2 separate regions of the Homo sapiens genome follow, and region 2 is linked to region 1. Evidence: promoter capture Hi-C in human tissues and cell types (Jung and others, 2019). All regions are on one chromosome and are shown on one strand. Each heading gives the region's core, a stretch centred on a gene start or on the middle of the fragment in contact. The rest is flanking DNA. Distances are from core to core; before and after follow the strand shown.

Region 1 (3,309 bases), core at 436-2,935:
ATGGCGAAACCCCATCTGTACTAAAAATACAAAAAAATTAGCTGGGCGTGGTGACATGCCTCCCAGCTACACGGGAGGCTGAGGCATGAGAATCGCTTGAACCCCGGAGGCAGAGGTTGCAGTGAGCCTAGATCGCACCACAGCACTCCAGCCTGGGTGACAGAGCAAGACTCTGTCTCCAAAAAAATTAAAAAATTAAAATGGTCCAGTTGAGTACAAAAAAGAAGATCAGGAAGAGTTTATTGGAGCAAGACGGAGATGAGCAACCTTGAAAACAAGTCTAATTAAGATGAGTAATTGTTAAAAGATGAGCAGTGCTTTCTAAGCAGAGGTAGCAGGAGGAAAGGGTCTCCGATCCTGTAACGCCTTTTATGCCAGGAAGAAAGGATGAATTGAAAGGATGAAATGGCAAATGTCGTAGTAGACTATTGGACTATTCCTGCAGCTCAGGAAAGTGGGCTGGAAATAAGAGGTTTGGCAAATACCCTGTTATGGTGGTATTTAAGGCAGAGGGAGGGTTTGGAACGAGCTCACAAAGGGAACTCTAGAATGAACAGAGTAGGCTTCTCAGGGAAGGCTTAAATCCTGGAGGTCTCTGGGGTAGGTAGGACAGAAAGTCCTGTTATTTTCCAGGTAGACAGACTGTTGGGCGCCGGGGAATTAATGCTGGTCACCTAGAGAGTTGTGCATTTTGTCTACCATTGTTAAATGAGGCAATGACCTGCCTCAAATACTTTTCACTCCACACACCTATTTGGAAGCCACGTATATTTTGCTTGCTCTTCCCATTTAAAATCGTAATCCACTCTATTCCACCCCCATGAGGAAGCTTTTGGGTAGAAAAGTGTGTAGAGGAATAAGTAAGTTGATGTGCATCAGATGTGCAAACTTTAGTGTGCATCAGAACCACCTGGAAGGCTTGTTAAAACAGGTTGCTGGGCACCACCCGGGGAGTTTGATTCAGTAGGTCTAAGGTGGAGTTCAATAATCTGCGTTACTAACACGTTTCCAGGTGATGCTGCTGTTCGGGGGACCACACCCAGAAGCTACCTTTTACCACTCTAAAAGGTAGCTGATTGGTTTTCTCTGTAATATAAATTCCTTAACGAGTTTAAAATATTGATCTGAGCCCTCGTAATTGCCTCAAATGTTTAATGCTAATGTGTGTTCAATGCTGTAGCCACGAGGGGAGCCTAAAATCACCTAACAACTCCTTTCGGGAGTGATTTTGATTAGTTCATCTACAGTTCCAACTAAGATTTCCCACAAATATTACTTTCACAGGAGGCTAACAAAAAACGCCGTCTTTGTCCCCAGAAAATACCTGGAGGACGGTATTTCAGAGGCGGGGAGGCTGCACCAGCCTCCCAGTCTCAGCCCTTCTCTACCGCCCGCCACTGAAGGGGCCCCGGATACCCCCAGGACTGCTGCAACTTCCTAGGTGACTTGAGGCAGCCTTAAAAGGGATTGGTGCAGGGTCCTTGCGACAGATAAATGTGATTAAAAATCCGCTGGGCCACCCGAAGGGAGAGTCTTTTTCCCTCAGGTGGCGCCTAGGGGCGGGACTGAGGGACAGCCCGCTCCCCGCAGCGCCCTCTCCGGCTCCGGGGGTGTTCCCGGCTGCAGCCGCGATCCTAACGGGCTCGCGAGACGCCCCGCCCACCCTGGGCCCGCCCCCGGCTCCATCTTGCGGGAGACCGGGTTGGGCTGTGACGCTGCTGCTGGGGTCAGGTGAGGAGCGGCGCCCCCCTCCCTTTCCCACCTCGTCTGCCTCGGTGGTCTTGCCCTCGGCCAGCTCTGGGCGCTGCTGTCCCGGTGCTAGTGGGGCGCGGCTGGAGGGCAGTGTGGGCCTCCCGGATGGCGGCGACTCGGTTTGCGCGTCTCGTAGCCGGGCTGCCGGCCGGGGTGTGTTGGGGTGGCGTGGGTGAGGCGGCCGGCCTGGCTTACGGGAAGCCCTTCCGTCCGTTTGGAAATCCCAGGGACCAGTGGCGCCCCGCCCTCGGGCAGGTGGAGGGGCTGAGGCCGGAGCGTGGCCCAGCTGCCTCGCGGGAGGCTGAGTAGGGAAACGCACGGGCAGTGCTGAAAGCCGTCTGGCTGGTAGTGGCTGTACTTTCCGGTGACACAGCGAATTTAGGGAAACTTGGGGAAATTTTTACTGTGTTTAGTGAACCGTAGGACAGAATGCGCCAGGCCAAGGTCGTACACTGGTTCTCGTTTACAGTTCTTGGAAGCTATTCTAGAATAGCATTCCAGATTTGATTGCTGTTCCCCGACCAGCAGCAAATCTGTGTTGAAATTAGCTCATCCTGTGCAAACACTGCGCAAGGAAACCAAGGTGCAGAGGTAGATGGCTGATGTCCACCGTAAAGTGACAGACATGACGCTGTTGTCTTCCGACTGCCGTAAACGCCCTGATTTTTGCCAGCTGATGGCCAGCTAATCTGCTAAATGTGTCCGAATTAGATGATGAGTGTAATGAGTTACCTTCCAGGCAAGGAAAGAGTTTCAAGCACTGAATAGGTAAAAGAGATAATTTTGGCCACTGCAAACTTTCAGTCCTTTTCAGTGAGGACTGTCTTTCAGTCCTCACTGGTGGTTGGCTACCTACCTGTCCGTGCAGAGGACTAGCCATGCCTCCATGTTCTTTCTCCACATCACTGACGGATTTAAATGATCCTACCATACCTAGAAGCCGGTTTTGCAAAATTGTATTCGCTGTTGCGCGTATCTTCAGTCACCCTTCCTGTTTCGTGTATTTTTTCCCCCATAAATTTGCAACAGCTGCCTCTTGGGTTCCTGGGCTTCATGCCATCAATGAGAAACGGTGAGACCCAGCCCTTTTACTAACTGACTCACTGGGTGGAGGTGGTTTGGAAAACCAAAAATGATTTTCTAGTCTTTTAAAAGTGATTGCTAACAGAGAATGTTTAAAAAAAAAAAAAAAAAAGCCCGAGCGCGGTGGCTCACTCCTGTAATCCTAGCACTTTGGGAGGCCGAGGCGAGAGATTCACGAGGTCAGGAGGAGTTTGAGACCAGCTTGACCAACACGGTGAAACCCCGTCTCTACTTAAAAATACAAAAATTAGCTGGGCGTGGTGGCGCGCGCCTGTAATCCCAGCTACTCTGGAGGCTGAGGCAGGAGAGTCGCTTGAACCCGGGAGGCAGAGGTTGCAGTGAGCCAAGATCGCCACTGCACTCCAGCCTGGGCGGCAGAGAGAAACTCTGTCACAAAAAAAAAAAAAACCCAAAAAACTCTAGACTTACTATTCACTTGGGCAAAGTTGAGAAATTTTTTGAGTCACTCTGGGT
Region 2 (3,453 bases), core at 803-3,302, 59 kb after region 1:
GTTACAGTCTAGCAGAAGGGTAATGAAGGCCTAATGCCATATTATTGAAAAGGAAAGAAGACTGATACAAAAGGGCATTTCAAATGTACATTTGACAAAGAAGTTGTCAGTGCCACTAAAGCCCTTAAAGAGCCCAGAAATATGTTGTTGAACAAATGATTTGACACTTTTAGGTGACTGGAAAAATGCTGGAGTAGCTGAGAAGAGGCAGGATAATTATAAAGTCTGAAGGCTGTAAGATGTTGTTTTCTCTTTTGTATCACCAAGTACACTTAGCATAGTATGTCCTCAGTAAATGTTTGAATTGAGTTAGAAAATAAGGCCTTTTCAACAGGCACAGTGGCTCATGCCTTTTAATCCCAGCACTTTGGGAGGCTGAGGTGAGTGGATTGCTTGAGCCTAGCCGTCGAGACCAGCCTAGACAGCATGGTGAAACCCTGTCTCTACAAAAAATACAAAAATTAGCTGGGCGTGGTGGCGCATGCCTGTAGTCCCAGCTACTCAGGAGGCTGAGGTGGGACAATCACTTGAGCCTGGGAGGTTGAAGCTGCAGTGAGCTGTGATCACACCACTGCACTCCAGCCTGGGTGACAGAATGAGAGCCTGAAAAAAAAAAAAAGGAAGGAAGGAGAGATAAAAGACCTTTTCCAAAAAACAAATATCCAATTTATTATCGAAATTGTTTGTGCCCTTAGTATTGTAAAATTGACAGTATATCTGACTAAATAAGAAATACATTAAGACCTTTTCCAGTGGACTACCATTTTGTGTGGCTGCTTCTTTCCTGCTCTCAAAATATATTTTTGTAAAACTGAGAAGTTAAATAATGTTTGAAGGGAGCTTTGCAGATTAAAAAAAACGGTTACCAGAGAACACTGTGAACAGTGTATGGCAGCAGTCCCCAACCTTTTTGGCACCAGGGACCAGTTTCGTGGAAGACAATTTTTCCACAGACTGGGGGCAGCGGGGATGATTCAACCACATTACATTTACTGTGCACTTTATTTCTATTAGTATTACACGGTAATATATAATGAAATTTTTTTGTTTTGAGACGGAGTCACTCTTTTGCCCAGGCTGGAGTTCAGTGGTGTGATCTCAGCTCACTGCAACCTCTGCCTGCCGTGTTCAAGCGATTCTCCTGCCTCAGCCTCCCAAGTAGCTGGGACTTACAGGCATGTGCCATCACACCTGGCTAATTTTTGAATTTTTTAGTAGAGATGGGGTTTCACCGTATTGGACAGGCTGATCTCGAACTCCTGACTTGGTGATCCGCCCGCCTCGCCTTCCAAAGTGTTGGGATTACAGGCGTGAGCCACCGTGCCTAGCCTATATAATGAAATATTATACAACTCACCATAATGTAGAATCAGTGGGAGCCCTGAGCTTGTTTTCCTGCAGCTAGACAGTCCTATCTGGGGGTGATGGGAGACAGTGACAAATCAGGCATTCGATTCTTATAAGGAGTGCACAACCTAGATCCTTTGCATGCATCAGTTACAATAGGGTTCGCACTCCTGTGAGAATATAATGCTGCCACTGATCTGACAGGAGAGAGAGCTTAGGTGGTAATGCAGGTGATGCAGAGTGGCTGTAAATAGAGATGAAGCTTTGCTTGCTCGCCTGCTGCTTACCTCCTGCTGTACAGCCCAGTTCCTGACAGGCCACGGGCTGGTACTGGTTCATGGTTCGGGGTGGGGACCCCTGATGTAGGGTATGGGAGGTCAAGGTGTTCCTACTTTGTCTTGTGATACTTTGTGCTTAATGGGTTAGTTACCTGTATAAACATCTTTAGCGCTACCAGTGAAATCATCCTTGTGACCAGCTCCCTAAAGCACTGCCTGTCCAACAGCAAAGGTTGGATATGGGGAATAAAACAGTGCTGGACTATGGCATTTCCTTAGGTTTTCCCTGGTATTGGTTATGATGGAATATGGGTACTTGTGCAGCTGTGGTACATGAGGGGACAGGTTGATTCATTCTGTTTACAGAGACCAAAGAAAACAGAGGGACTTTTCCCAGTTGGTGATATGGAGCAAGTGCCATCAGCAGGCAGACTCGTGCAGATCACCGTGACAGAGGGATATGATTTGGTAAAGTTACTTTTGGAAATTTACAAAAATCCTTAGTTTGGGAGTACCTGCAGGAGGAATGGAATTTTGCTTCATTCTCTACCTCCAAACCTCCTGGCTTTATGTAGCAGTGGCATTCCGCCTCAGTGTTCCTTATTGTTAGTCTTAATCTCCAAGTCACATTACTGTGTGTCTCAAATACCCGGCAATTTGAATACTAAATTTAACAGGATGAAAGAAACAGTGGTTTTAGTTTCCCTAGACAGCAGTTCACGTATAATTTTTTTCCCTTTCTCCTGAGAAGGATCTGAATTCTTCCAGAGTTTCCCTTGTGATTAATTCTATTTGATTAATTAAAAAAACAACAACAATGTGATGTACTAAAAATTAGGAATATGATGAAATGGGAAAATATTCAGTATATTAAGTTTAAAAAGATCATTCCAAAGAGGATGTAATTAATGAGCTCCACTTTGTTTTAAAATGCATATATAAAAATGTATCTATGTGTGCATGTATGGGTACACACACGTACATCCATATATTCACAGCAGAACACTAGAAAATATATTCTAAAATATTAATAATGCTTGCATGTTACAGTAAGATTGTAGGTAATTAATTTTCTTACTTTTAAAAATGTTCCTCAGTAGCTTGCAGTGAGCTGAGATCGCGCCACTGCACTCCAGCCTGGGTGACAGAGCGAGACTCCGTCTCAAAACAAACAAACAAACAGAAAAAAAAATGTTCCACAGTATACTTTTATTATTAGGTGAAACACAATAAATGTTATTTTCAAGACTCCAACATAACAGCACTTCAATGGAATGTTGCATTTAAGTAAAACTAGATTTGTTTAATGATTTTTCTACCTATTCCTTTTGTATTTGTGATGTTGCTCGTTAGGAAAAAATGAAAAATGCTATTTAGCCCAAATCAAAATGGGTTACCAGATGTGTGGGAAAATTCTCTATTTGAATATAATTGTAAAGTGGTGTGTTTCTGCCAACAGAAAGGTTTTAAAGGAGATACTCCAGTTACCTTTATTCGAGCAGAATTCAATCAAGTGGTTCTGGGAGACTCTGCAAAAATTACTGTTTCTCCAGAAGGAAGTGCAAAATACAACTTCACTAGCAGTTTTGAGTTTAATCCTGAAGGAGGAATCACTTCAGATGACCTCGCTCACAAACCTGTGTTCTGTAAGTCCTTGTGGTTCTAAAAATCAATGTCCCGATTGCCTTCTTCCCTATCATGTTGGATGGGAAAAGCACAACCAAAACATTCTTTTAAACATGTAACTAAAATCATGAGAAAGAAAGGACAGTTCCTTTGTTCCCAGAAGCAAGGCAGGAACTGAAACGTGAAAATCTTGAACAGCTGC

Evidence for each region. Contacts are between HindIII fragments. The study calls those that stand out against the background at their distance.
Region 2: a contact is called between a fragment that was not itself captured here and the fragment with the promoter of ANXA7 in region 1, in 1 of the 25 tissues and cell types used here (hippocampus).

The regions. Positions count from the first base shown.
Region 1 is chr10:73,412,434-73,415,742 of GRCh38, reverse strand. ANXA7 (annexin A7) reads left to right here and starts at 1,685. Exons shown (of 13, transcript NM_001156.5): 1 at 1,685-1,731. RefSeq lists a silencer at 1,502-2,061 and enhancers at 2,462-2,541, 2,552-2,671. The HindIII fragment of the contact is 7,160 bases long and covers 1-3,309 here.
Region 2 is chr10:73,353,374-73,356,826 of GRCh38, reverse strand. It overlaps CFAP70 (cilia and flagella associated protein 70), which reads left to right. Exons shown (of 28, transcript NM_001367801.1): 2 at 1,992-2,093; 3 at 3,085-3,271. The coding sequence starts at 2,031. Among named protein-coding and RNA genes, the nearest start is that of CFAP70, 3.8 kb to the left of the region's middle. The HindIII fragment of the contact is 5,225 bases long and covers 1-3,453 here.